Linked DNA regions of Homo sapiens: all the other regions are linked to region 2. The links are contacts of gene promoters, found by promoter capture Hi-C in blood cells and fetal thymus (Javierre and others, 2016). All regions are on one chromosome and are shown on one strand. Each heading gives the region's core, a stretch centred on a gene start or on the middle of the fragment in contact. The rest is flanking DNA. Distances are from core to core; before and after follow the strand shown.

What was found. The method cuts DNA at HindIII sites, captures the fragments that hold promoters and counts their contacts. A CHiCAGO score of 5 or more calls a contact.
Region 1: a contact is called between a fragment that was not itself captured here and the fragment with the promoter of SLCO5A1 in region 2, in 1 of 17 cell types (neutrophils). The highest score is 5.1, in neutrophils.
Region 3: a contact is called between a fragment that was not itself captured here and the fragment with the promoter of SLCO5A1 in region 2, in 5 of 17 cell types (neutrophils, naive B cells, total B cells and 2 more). The highest score is 14.1, in neutrophils.
Region 4: a contact is called between the fragment with the promoter of PRDM14 here and the fragment with the promoter of SLCO5A1 in region 2, in 3 of 17 cell types (naive B cells, erythroblasts and total B cells). The highest score is 10.6, in naive B cells.

The regions. Positions count from the first base shown.
Region 1 is chr8:69,680,907-69,684,198 of GRCh38, reverse strand. SLCO5A1 (solute carrier organic anion transporter family member 5A1) reads left to right here. Exons shown (of 10, transcript NM_030958.3): 7 at 1,856-2,015. Among named protein-coding and RNA genes, the nearest start is that of SLCO5A1-AS1, 150 kb to the left of the region's middle. The HindIII fragment of the contact is 5,118 bases long and covers 1-3,292 here.
Region 2 is chr8:69,833,415-69,836,289 of GRCh38, reverse strand. It overlaps SLCO5A1 (solute carrier organic anion transporter family member 5A1), which reads left to right and starts at 1,312. Exons shown (of 10, transcript NM_030958.3): 1 at 1,312-1,436. SLCO5A1-AS1 (SLCO5A1 antisense RNA 1) reads right to left here and starts at 2,178. Exons shown (of 4, transcript NR_186568.1): 1 at 2,097-2,178. RefSeq lists a silencer at 1,047-1,156 and an enhancer at 1,477-1,556. The HindIII fragment of the contact is 8,160 bases long and covers 764-2,875 here.
Region 3 is chr8:69,658,436-69,661,625 of GRCh38, reverse strand. SULF1 (sulfatase 1) reads right to left here. Exons shown (of 23, transcript NM_001128205.2): 23 at 714-3,121. The coding sequence ends at 3,091. Among named protein-coding and RNA genes, the nearest start is that of SULF1, 170 kb to the right of the region's middle. The HindIII fragment of the contact is 267 bases long and covers 1,416-1,682 here.
Region 4 is chr8:70,069,844-70,072,783 of GRCh38, reverse strand. It overlaps PRDM14 (PR/SET domain 14), which reads left to right and starts at 1,532. Exons shown (of 8, transcript NM_024504.4): 1 at 1,532-1,634; 2 at 2,900-2,940. The coding sequence starts at 2,924. RefSeq lists enhancers at 579-1,308, 1,309-2,038. The HindIII fragment of the contact is 12,104 bases long and covers 1,015-2,940 here.

The DNA.
Region 1 (3,292 bases), core at 539-3,038, 150 kb after region 2:
TAATATTTTTTTAGGTATATACAAACTTTAAGATGATATGACACTAGGAGTTTGTGAATGTAATGATTATTAGAGTCTTGTCATACTTTTTTTCTATGGAGCGACATGAATGAAAAACAGAATTTATTTGCCTTTTGCATTGTTAGGAGGATTTCTTGATAAGACTTTAATATTGTTTTGAATTTGTTTCCCCCATTAAAATTTAAGGACTCATTATCAAAGTTTGAAAGAGGCCACAGGAGAAAAACCTTTGAACAAACACCAATTAACACGCATGATTGGGATGGGCTATGCTACTGTATAAGTGGTACCAGCATAGTCATTAAAGATAAGTCTTGGCCAGGCATGGTTGCTCACGCTTGTAATCCTAGCACTTTGGGAGGCCAAGGGGGAGTGGATCACGAGGTTAGGAGTTCGAGACCAGCCTGGCCAACATGGTGAAACCCCATCTCTACTGAAAATACAAAAATTAGCCGGGCATGGTGGCAGGTGCCTGTAATCCCAGCCACTCGGGAGGCTGAGGCAGGCGAATTGCTTGAACCTGGGAGGTGGAGGGTGCAGTGAGTGGAGATCACGCCACTGCACTCCAGCCTGGGCGACAGAGTGAGACTCCTTCTCAAAAAAAAAAAAAGATAAGTCTTGGTGGCGAGGGAGGGAGTTGAGGGGCGAGAAATTACCTATTGAGTGCAATGTACATCAGTCAGGTGATGGGTTCACTAAAAGCCCAAACTTCGCTACTACACAATATATCCACATGACAAAACTGTTCTTTCACCCCCTCTAAATCTATTTCAAAAAAGATAAGACCTGGTACGTAACAGACATTCCAAAATATTTGTTAAATGGGTAGATACTGGAAAAATGGATGGTTGGATGAAGGATCTGCTATTGCTAACTCATCTAGTCTTGGGAACAACATTTCATCAGTGATACACAAAACTGGTGGTCACAAAAGCAAAAGCGGTCATGGGGTACGAGCAGTACAGAGCGCCTTTCCTTTTCCTGTGGATCCCCCAGGTGCTCCTCTGCTCTTCCACCGCTGTTTGTTTACACTCTTCTCCCCAGGCCTATATCCTTACCTGCCTTTCCTTCCCTCTATATTTGTTGCCTGAATTTATTTTCTTCAAGCCTTTCATATGGTATCATTTCTTTGTATCAGACACCATGATCTCAAGAAAAGAAACCCACCATATTTGATTGTGGATCCACACCGGGGCAATCCTGAGTGAAGAACTGCTTAATCTTTATTCTCTGGTTGTTTAAATCAAACTAGCAATGTGATTCCTAATCATCTTTGAAAATACTTCATTTTGATTGTCTAGAGCCCCAATGCCTTTCTTTGATAATTTATTCTAGAATACAAGTTTTTGGTCGAAGGAACGTATATTAATAACTGGGATAGATGGATTTTAACAGTGATCATGTGCTCACAGTGATGTTATTGATTCAATACTAAAAAGTATTTTCTCCATTTTATAAAGAAATTGAGGTACAGATTTGTTAAGATGTAGAGCCTGGCGCCTACAGTAAGTGAGTAGTTATATTAGGGTTGGAATTGCAGAGCCCAGATGTTGAGACCAGGTTCATAGCACCAAGAGGGAGGGTGAAATTGATGTGGGGCAGTAATTTGATAAAAAGCATTGAATCTGTAATACCAGTAAGTTGAAACATTTTTCTTTATGTTTTGTTTTAAAGTCACAAAATAATTGTTGAGGATGACTACTTTGGGTATCATGGCTTTGATTCAATGGGAAGAATATTTTCTCTAAAATGGACAAATTATTAATTTCAAGACCTTTCCTATGAGTTTTATTTTGGTAAGTGTTGCTCATGATCTGCTTCTCTTCTCTCTTAGACCTTCTCTCACCATGCCCCATAGGAATCTGACAGGAAGCTGCAACGTTAATTGTGGTTGTAAAATACACGAGTATGAGCCAGTCTGTGGATCAGATGGAATTACATACTTTAACCCTTGTCTGGCTGGCTGTGTTAATAGTGGTAATCTTAGCACTGGGGTGAGTATATTTCACAAGTTCCTCTTCTGTTAGTCCAACATCCTGTGACAAGGATGTGATGAAATTCCTATGCAGCTACAATGACTTCAGTCTTTCTTTTCAAGAGGCTCCAAGTAACCTACAAAATACCTCTGATGAAAACCTAGAGGAAAGAAAATTATGCATTGCTATTATTTTTTTTTCCAGGGATGACTGGAACATTTGGGTGCAGGGATTTTGTTCCATATCAGCCTTCTCCTACTTTATATTCTGCGCCAAGTCAGTGAAACTTGATAAGGTTGAGCTCTAGGCCTGCCATTTGTTTCTCTGACAGGGCCCTTGTGATGGATTTGAAGGTCAAGATGACCACATTTGGTGCTGATAAAAAAGTATAGGAAAGCACCTCCCCTGACTGGAGTCTGTGAAGATGGGTGATGGCCATTTTTCATAGACTATATCAGTTCAGTTCCGGCTTAAAAAAAAACTTTCAAAGTAAAGATATTTCTGACAGTTCAAGAATAGGCTATTTTGAGAATTCCCTTTCCTGTAAATTATAAATGGGCTGTAATACTGTGGGAGAAGGTTTTCATATTCTACTGTTTCTTTTTTTTGAGATGGAGTTTTGCTCTTGTTGCCCAGGCTGGAGTGCAATGGCATGATCTCGGCTCACCTCAACCTCCGCCTCCCAGGTTGAAGTGATTCTCCTGCCTCAGCCTCCCTAGTAGTTGGGATTATAGGCATGTGCCACCATGCCTGGCTAATTTTGTATTTTTAGTAGAGACGGGGTTTCTCCATGTTGGTCAGGCTGGTTTCGAACTCCCGACCTCAGGTGATCTGCCTGCCTTGGCCTTCCAAAGTGCTGGGATTACAGGTGTGAGCCACTGTGCCCGGCCTCTACACAGTTACTTATTGAGCCCAGTTTGATTCTTTGTGAAGAACAGATTGTACGAAGTTGCTTTCACTAAAAGGTTAAAATGCATGTGCTTGTTCTGTGCAGGTGATAAGGGATTATACCATCCACTGAATGTTTTGGGGATATTGTTTTTGATGTCTGAGTTTTAAACTGCAATGATAAATTGAGAATTCCTGTTGTTTGTTCCCCATTATATAATTGGTGAACTCCACTGTGTCGCCATGTTGAAAGGGTGAGATCTGTTCTCTTGGTGGCGAAGTCCTTTCTTGAGAGTGAGTGTTCATCCTTTAAAATATGCCAGCAGTCTTTTGAGCATGACAGCCAAACAGTGCCCCATCTTCATACTTTTTCTTATGACTGCTTCAAGTATTCAAAGGTTGCAATG
Region 2 (2,875 bases), core at 63-2,562:
CCTCAGATACTCTTTTTTTTTTTTTTTTTCAGTTATCATCCTGTTTGTCTTCCCTGCAGCCTGTACACATCTGACCCTTCCCTTCTTACAGTCGTCTGCTCTTTTGGCTTTTCTGATGCGTCCCACACCTCTCTGACCCTTGCTTCCAGTCTCCTTCCTTTGGCTGTACGCTGTCCTCCTAGATTCTTCACAATTTGGATGATCTTCCCTATTCATTCCATCCTTTCTCATGCCACCTTTGGGCTGATGACTACTGATCAATATTCCTAGTCCAAACCTCCTGTGTGTCCAGTGGCTTATGGGACACGTACACTGGGATGTCCCCCAAACATTTCAAACTCAACACATGTAGATGAGAACAATCTTTCTCCTAAAGCATGTTTCTCCACCTGTGCTTTTATTGGCTGTCAGGCACGTAGTCACCCAACTTGGTGCTAGAAACTTGGGAGTCATCCTACCTCGGCTGGTTTTCTTCTCTTGCAGATTGCATCAGCTGCCCAGTTCCCTCCTCTCCATGCCCCCTGCCAATGCCTCATCACATTTTGCTTTCAGACTGCCTCCCAACTCACTTCTGTGCCCGCAGTGTGGCCTCACATCTGTCTACCTGTCACTGCCAGAGCCAGCTCTCTGGTGAGGAAGTCAGAACGTCATTGCCCCCACATTATTGACAGTACACAACTTAGGAAACCCGTAGTGCCCCTTTCTACTCAGCCACTCTTGCAGTCTGGTCCTCTGCCCCATCCCTGCAATCTTCTAGGAAGCTTATCTACCTATTGACTGGCAGCACCATGCCCCCGTGCCTCTGTTCTTCCTGCTGCGTGGAAATGAAGGCTAATGGATATTGGCTACTCCAGTAGCAGGCTGCATAGATGTACCACGTTGTTTTAAGCCATTTACATGAGTATTTCCCCCACAAGCCAGAGGTTTCCTCCGACCAAGTATCTTGTCTTGTTTATCTTTGGTCCCAGAATCTACTATGGTGAATGAGACATGGTGTGTGCCCAAGGCACGGAATAAACGATCAGAAATGATTTATTTATTCAGAGTGGGCTGTCAGCTTCAGCCGCTGACTTTTCTAGAGACCGGCTCCCTCGGGGCTTCAGCGCTCTTGGGCCCCCGCAGCCACGCAGGTGAAGGGCAGCGGGGTGGCTGGCTGTGGGAGGGCTGGGCTGGGTGGCTGCCCTCGCGCCTGCGCCCTCGGCTGCTCCTCTCCGGGCGCGTCTCTGTGCGCGTGTGTCTGTTTGGAGCGGAGGAGAGGCTTGGGTGACAGGCGAGGGGTGGGGGGAAGAGTTCAGCCTGAGTCACAGTCTCATTCACTGATTTCTCTTCGGCTGGACGGAGGCTGCCTCCTCACGCGGCTCCCAACTATTCCCGTAGCTCAGTGCCCCCCTCCCGCCGCTCTACTCAGCCAGGCAGACAGACTGACAGACTCGCTAGTGAGTAGCGGCGGCTTGAGCGCCCGGGCAGCGCGGCGGGCTGTCGCCGGCGGTCTTGTCTTCCCACGGGCTCTGTGTGTGTGTGTGTGTGTGTGTGTGTGTGTGTGTGTGTGTGTGTAGGATGTGCGTGTATGTGATGTGCGCGCAGGGGGTGTCCCTGGGATTCCACGCCTGCTCCAAGAGCTCCCTGCCGGGATCCGCGTGTCCATCCGAGTCTGCGATGCTGTGAGGGCGCTCGCCTAAGCAGGGGGTTCGGACGCCCCCCGCGAGCGGCGAGAGTTTGCTGGGATTCCCCGGCTCCTCACGCAGCGGCTGGTGGGGTTCCCCGGGAAGGCGCCTGGGTAAGGCAGCGGCGGGGAAGCCCGGGATTGTGAGTGGCTGGCAGGCCGGGAATCTGGGAGCGGGTTTGGCCCAGCACAGCCGAGGGAGATGCCGGAGCGGCCACCCTTGGCCGCCCAGCCTCTCTGCCTTTCTCCCTTGCCCTTCCTCCTTTCTTTTCTCAGCAGCATCACAAAGGCGCGCTGCAAAATGAAACCCAGTGTAGTGAAGCTCGGCTGTCTCCCACCTGGTGCATATTCCGCCCCCCGTCCTTGCCCCAGGCTGGAGGAGTGGAGTGGGGGTCCCCAAGATTAGGGGCGGGGTCTTACCACGGGGGCACACCTGTTTTCGATTCTTGCTGAATTCAAGCTGGGTGCGGGATCGCGAGAGAGGTTCCAGTACGCCGGTGTGTGTGTGTGTGTGTGTGTGTGTGTGTGTGTGTGTGTGTGGCCGCGCACGCGCACACGCTCCCCAGGCCCACGCTAGCGGGGTGCGCTCAGTCAATAGCACACCTCCCCGCCGGCCCGCGTGCGCCCAGCCGGCTCCGTGGGCTCCTCGCGCGCTCTCTGACAGCGTGCCGGGATCTCTTTGTTTGGTTGTGGCTTCCCTAGCTCTCGGCAAAGCAGACGGATTTTCGGTTTCGTTTGATACCGCGCTCTGGGACTTAGTGCGGGCCACAGCCTCGAATGCCCCTGGTATTTGTAATTGAAGAGTTCTTTCGGTCAGGGGGTTATTTTTGGTGTTGGGAATAAAGAGGCAAGCATGTTGACCTTTTTGCTGCTGCCTTCGGCTTTGAATGTGTGTCTCTGGTGGAGCAGACAGATTCAAATCTAGTCGCGCACACGTGCCAACGCACACCAGTGTGCACACACATTTCTACACACGTAGTTTACCCCCACCTTCTTTTTTCCTTTTAGAAAAATTGGGACAGGGAATACATTGTGTGTCTGTGAAAAAGTTTCCTTTGTTCTTTTGGGCATTTTCTATTTTGAGTAATGGAGTAGGAGTACGGAAAGGCTGCAGTTAGTTCACTCGATTAAAAGACACTGCCTCTGAGTCAGAGCTGCCAGGTTGATAATTATTAACATATAAAAGCAAACGCAATGTTTAAGGCAGAAGGG
Region 3 (3,190 bases), core at 300-2,799, 170 kb after region 2:
GTTCTCTTGAAAACTTGGTTTCCTCAATTATCCAAGGGTTGGATTGGTAGGTCCCCTGACCCTTTGCTTTCTTTTTTTCTTCTTCTTATTTATTTTTAACCTTCTGGTCTCTGGACATTTCACAGATTTTTAGCCCCTCAACCTGAAGGCTAAATTTCTTCAGGAGATTTGGAACAGACAGAAGGAAGCATATGGAATTTGTGTATCAAAAAACTTGAGATCTTGAAGGGTGTTTAGGTTTCCACCCAAGTTCCTGGTTCCTGAAGAACCGACACTGCCTTCAGTGGGTCTGTTCTCTTGGTTTTGAAAAATTCCATTTTACTGCCCAGAACCATTTTTGGTTCTGCCCAGACCTGATTTGCAGGGCCCCCGTGGAAAATGAAAATGTGGGGCCCCTTGTTAAAAAATTATTAAGGATTTCAAGGCGGTGACATCAGAGCATTAAACCAAGTGCTGGCCCTTTGTGACCATCTAGGTTGCCTGCCGGGAAAGCTACCTTGGCGCTGCCTCTGCTGCCTCCCTCAAGACAGCAATGAGGTAAATCCGTGGTGAAGTTGTTAATCTGAGAACGTTCTATAACACATTGACTTCAGCTCCATTTTATAAGTTTGGTTAGTATTCAATCATGTAAATAGAGATCATGACTCAATTTTACTTGCAAGAAATGGGTGTACCACAAAAACTTGGTTAAGTTCATTTCTCTGAAACAGAAAAAAGTTTAAACACCTTTTATTTGAAGAAATATTGCTTCTAGACTTTCCTGAAGCCAGAATTGTTCTATAAAAGTATCATGGAATATTATACATGATTAAAAAACAGAGTATGCTTCCTAATAACTTGAAATCTTTTTACAAAGCACATTATTCATGATCATAAATATGTTTGTTCTGTCATCCCACCGATGATACACACATCAGGCAAGCAGCTAATTTGAACATATGTACAGAGTCTATGATAAAGATTTAAAGTTACCAAAAAGATTCAGCTATAACATATTAAATTTTCTTTAAAAGAGTTTACCATAAACACTTAAAGAAAACATAATTTATCTAAGCACTTGAATTATCTAAAAATAAGAAGAAAACCTCTCTTAGGGTAAGCAAAAACACATCATCTTGGGGAGCTGAATAGGAGGGTACTGATGACTCAGTGAGGTAATCCTTTAGCTGGTATTTAAAAACCTAATACACAACAAGGATATTTTCAAGAATACAGATTTTCAAAAGCAATTTTGAACTATGTCTTTAAAAGATATCAGAACTTGGTGAAGGTCTTACAAATAATCATAGAACACAATGTTAAGAAATTAACTTCTCTTGTGGTATGTTGAAATTGTGGAGCATTCATGATTTTCTTTTATTGAGAAGTTCTTGGTGTAAATTCAAAACTAGTCATATTTTATCAACATTTAAGCTTCTTAGTCATGCCAAGAAAACCAAAAAAGATGAAAATAAAAGATCTTTAGATCTTTTTCTCCTGTCAAGAAAATAACCCAAAATATAGCAATCTTAAAGGTATGATGTATGATGAACGCTTTGAGGCTAGGCACAGAGAGAGCAGGCAATCTTCATTTTGTTTACTTATTTATTTATTTTCACCACCAACATTATTAGCCATGCCTTTCTGCTAATCGATTTTAGCAAGTCGAGGTAAAACACATGCAACATTTTCTGGCAAAAGCTTAATGTCAAACAATATGTGATCCATACTGTGTGTCGTCCTTGGGGGTTTATTTGACTTTGTCACAATGACAGCCAACAGTGAGACTGATAAGCCTGTAAAAATAAAAAAATAAGACTAATCAAATAGACATGGCATTTTAATCTCAAAGTGCAAAATCATCTAACTGAAAATGACGGCATTGAAAAATTCCAGTGGTTAAAAATGAATCAAAACTTCATTACGCAGGCAGTGGAAGTGTGTTGAAAGATTTACCAGGGGTGTCAAGTTTTAGACACTCAGAAAGGCACCATTCTAGCCATCTTGATTGGATAACATGTATATACTTATGTCCCTACGATATTCAAAAGATAATACTGTTTTAGTACAAAACAAACAAACAAGCAAAAAATCAAAACCAAGCCAACCCAAATATCCCCAGCCTTTCTTTCTACTCTTGGCAGATAGTAAATTATAACGATGAGTCTCCGTGTGCACACCGCTTGCTCACATGCTCACTAGCTTCTACTGCACAAAGGTACCCAGGGTAGCTTGGAATGTTGGTGGCTGTGATTACCTTTATTAGTTTACAAATAAAAAAGTTAAAAAGAAATACTGTGTTTAGGGTAAGGTAACAGTTTCATCTAATCAGAGGAGAGTGAAGAGGAGGCGCTGCCTTCTAGGTGCTGTGACTTCTCCTTTTCGTGATTCTTCTCCACCTTGGTCAACATCTTCCCCGCTATGCTGGAATTACTTCGGTGTTCTGCGGTGGCCATGGTGAACATCTGATGAACTGAAATTCCATCGGAATGCACAGGAAGATATAGTTGATCTTCAAAAATGTCCTTTCCAGGACCACCATACTGGGGAAGTTCTTTCGGGTGCCTGCGAATGGGCTGCAGCCTGGGGCTGGGCCCGAGCTCTAGCTCTGTCATGCCATCGCCACTGAAATCGGTTTCCAGATGATTAGTCTCTTCATGCCCCGTCCATTTTTCGGTTTTTCTCCAGTGTTCAGAATTCAAATGATTAACTTCTGGAATGTCGTTATTCCATTCAAGTTTACTCTCTGGACTTAATGTTGGTCGGTTCAAATGCAGGGTTTGAAGGTCAGCTGGCAAGGTCAAATGAGGTGTTTTCCCAACCTTATGCCTTGGGTCTTCATCTGAGTCAGCAGAGGCCATCTCCATTGACACAGCGTGCTCAGCAGAGACAACCAAGAACCCGTCACTTTGAGCAGTTTGAGTCTTATTTGTTTTATTTTGCTCATAGTGACTCTTCAGCAGTGCAAATACTCTATCTAAATCCTTCAAGTAATTAGTCCAGTCCACCAGACTAAGTCTGTAGTTTTGTCTGTACTCATAGATGTTTTCATTCACACTGTGTAGCTCCTCTAGGCCTTGCCAGTTGATGTCTGCAGTGAGACGGGGCTGATTAACCTTCCCATCCATCCCATAACTGTCCTCTGTGAAAAGAGAGAAGAAGGTGAATCATTAGTGGAGAAAAGGCTTTCTACTTACCTGGACAAGCAACT
Region 4 (2,940 bases), core at 283-2,782, 240 kb before region 2:
TAAATGATCCTTCCACAGAGGCACTTGGGACAAGAGGCGACGGGTACTTTTCACGTTTTCGATCTATTGGCTAAGATCCTATCACCTCAAAACAAGGAGACGAGGAAACCCTGGGATCTTGATCCCATTTCGATTGAGAAAACAACACGCTCCTTGCGAAGCGAAACGGGGCTGGCCGCGGGCAGCGCGGAACCACGCGAAGGCGTCGGGGGCGGGCGGGCGCGGGGACCAGGGCCACCCGGTGCAGCAAAGGGGGCAAGCAGGCGGCAGGGCGCGCGGGGAGACAAGGCTGAGTGCACGCCGCCCGCGCCCTCGAAGGCTCTAGTCCCACTCCTTCCTCCCTTCTTGCAGCCCCGCCGCGCCCTGGCGAAGGCTACAGGGTCAGGTTCCCCGCACCGAGGAGCCCAGAAGCCCGGCTGCGGGCGCTCTGAAGATCCGGGACCCCGGCCTCCGTCCCCCGCCAGCTTTAGGGACTCTGGCGGCGTCTCTTAGCCGGGTAGATGTTCCTCCTTTCCCTCTCTCTTCCAAGCCGCTGCCAGGCCGGGGGTGAGGCTGCACCTCAGTCTTCAGCCCCGAAGGCCGCGCCCGGGGCGGGTCGCTCCCCATTCAGCTAAGAGGAAGCAGCGGCCGGGGGGCAGGCGAGGAACCTGTCCCGGCTCACCCGGCAAGACTGCGTTTCCCCCACCCTCGGCGCTTCTTTCTGTGAATGTGAATGGAACTAAGCGTTCCTTTCTCTCCCTCAATGGCCGGCGAGGAGAATTCAAATGCGGTCTTTGGGCGCTCGGTATGGGTCTGGACCTTGGTTTTCAGAGCCTGCGCGTCCAAGGTCGCTAGCCTTTCCCGAAGGAAGTGACAGCTGCGGCGGCGCGGGAGGCCCATCCTCGGTCGTTTAAAGCCACTTAAGGAATAAAAGCCCCCGAGAGAGCAAAACGACCACCCGAAACCTCGGAAGCGTCGGGGGTGCCGGGCCCAACGCTCCCACGTGTCACTGCCGGGGACTCGCGAGGCGAAGCTTCCCAGCGCTCAAGGCGCTCCCGCCTCGTCCCCAGGTATCAGGAACAGACACCCACCAGGTCCACCAGCGGGTCAGACGCCGCCTTCGGGCAGGCTGGGATCTTCCGAACTGGGAGCGGAGAGTAAGGGGCTCGACCCCGGGACGCGAGTCCGGCCTTCTGGACTCCGGTTCAGGGTGTGTGTGCGCGCGGAGGGGCTTATCTGGGGGCCCTGGGTAGCACACGTGTTCGGTTTTTTTCTCCCCGACTCCGCACGCCTGGAGCGGCAATACTGCCTGCCCTAGAAGGCCAGCGGCGAGTGCTCGCCACTAGGGTCCCAGGGAGGGTTTGGAAAACTGATGAGTTAAGTGAGCGACCCCAGGGGACAGAGGGCGAGTCGAGAGTCGGCCAATGGCTGCGGTGGGCGGGGAGAAGACGACGCGGGGATCTGCGTGGGCCGGGTCAATTCCCTACCCTCGACCTGTCGATGCCCCGCGGCCCCGCCCGCCCTCTTAAGCCTGGCTCAGCCCTCAGGGCCCGCCCGAAGTCTACCGAGCCCGAGTGGCCTACCGAGCCCGAGTGGCCCCGCAGCGTCCAGGAGGCGCCCGCTCCGCGGTGGCGCTCTTGGAGGTGGTGTCGGAGGTAGGCACGGGACAGGACGCGCCTGGGGCCCGGGGCGGTGGTCTTCCAGGGCCGTTGGGGAGGGCGGCAGCACTCGCTGGCGCAGTTCGTTTTGGATGGTCGTTCTGCCCTCTCGGGGGCTTTGAATCCCAAGTTGCAGATCCCTGAGGTCGGAGGAGGCTAGGAGAAGGGCGCCTTTGGAGGATCGGGAGGAGACGGGCCGCTGCCTGTGTCGTGGCTGACCTCTTCTCCTGACCCCGTGTTCTTTAATTTCTGAGTCATGACCCTGCTTGGTTTTCTTATTGGGCTCATTGATCTCAAGACCCGCCGGCCCTGAAGGGGCTTCATTCTTCAGCCTCGGTGAACTTGCTGCCTGTCTATTAAAACGCCATCCTTTCCCGGCGGTGCGGGGGCGGGAGGACTGGCAGTCGCCGAGGCTCTTCGCTCCCACCTGGCCAGGGCTCGTCCACGCGGCTCCCGAGGGGCTACCCCAGGCCCCAATAGTCCTGGTAGAATGATTGGAGTTTCCGAGGAACCCGGGGAATGTGGCGGACGCTGCCCGCGAGGGAAAAGAGGTTCAGGCGGCGCATCCTAGGGCAGCCAAAAGTGGCGCGCCCCTCCCCTGCGGGCAGTCAGGACCGCCAGGACCCGCGGGGTCACACCGCTGGGCCAGAGCAGGTCGCGGGGTCCCTGGACCTGCCCGGGGGCTCTGGGAGCGCGTCTCCATCTGCGCGGTGCGACCCAGGGTCCTCGGCTCTTCCCTCCCAGCCGAGGGCCCAGGAGCGCCTGGAGCTGTCGCTTGCTCCATTGCCCTCCGACCGCCTGCGCTCGGCTCCCGGCCCAGCCCCGAGGTTGGCAGGGCCCCGCGGCTCCCACAGACCCTACCAACGAGTTTTGTAGGACTGAGAAGAAGGAAGGAAAGGGAACTTCAATGGGTTTTGCAGGAACCGGGTTGGGGGCCGAAAGCGGAGAGCGGGTGTGGGAAGGCGGCCGGGCTTAGGGAAGGGGTGCTTGGAGAGGGAAGGGGAAGGCAACACTAACCCGGAATTTAGAGTAGGGCAGGATCCCGGCAGATTTCCGTTTGGGGCTTTTTTGTGTTTGCTTCTATTGCTGTTTTTTCGTTTTGTCTTAATTGTGGGAGCGGGCTGGCGGGATCGGACTGGGGGCGTTTATCCTGTTCCCTTGGATCTGGGGCTGGCTGGGGTGGAGGAGGCTGGTGGGGAGGCGCGGGTCGGACCCCGGGAAGCTCCCGCGCGGTGTCCTCAGCGGCGCCCGCTTTTCTGCAGAGCCGCCGAGCGTGCGGTCCCGGGATGGCTCTACCCCGGCC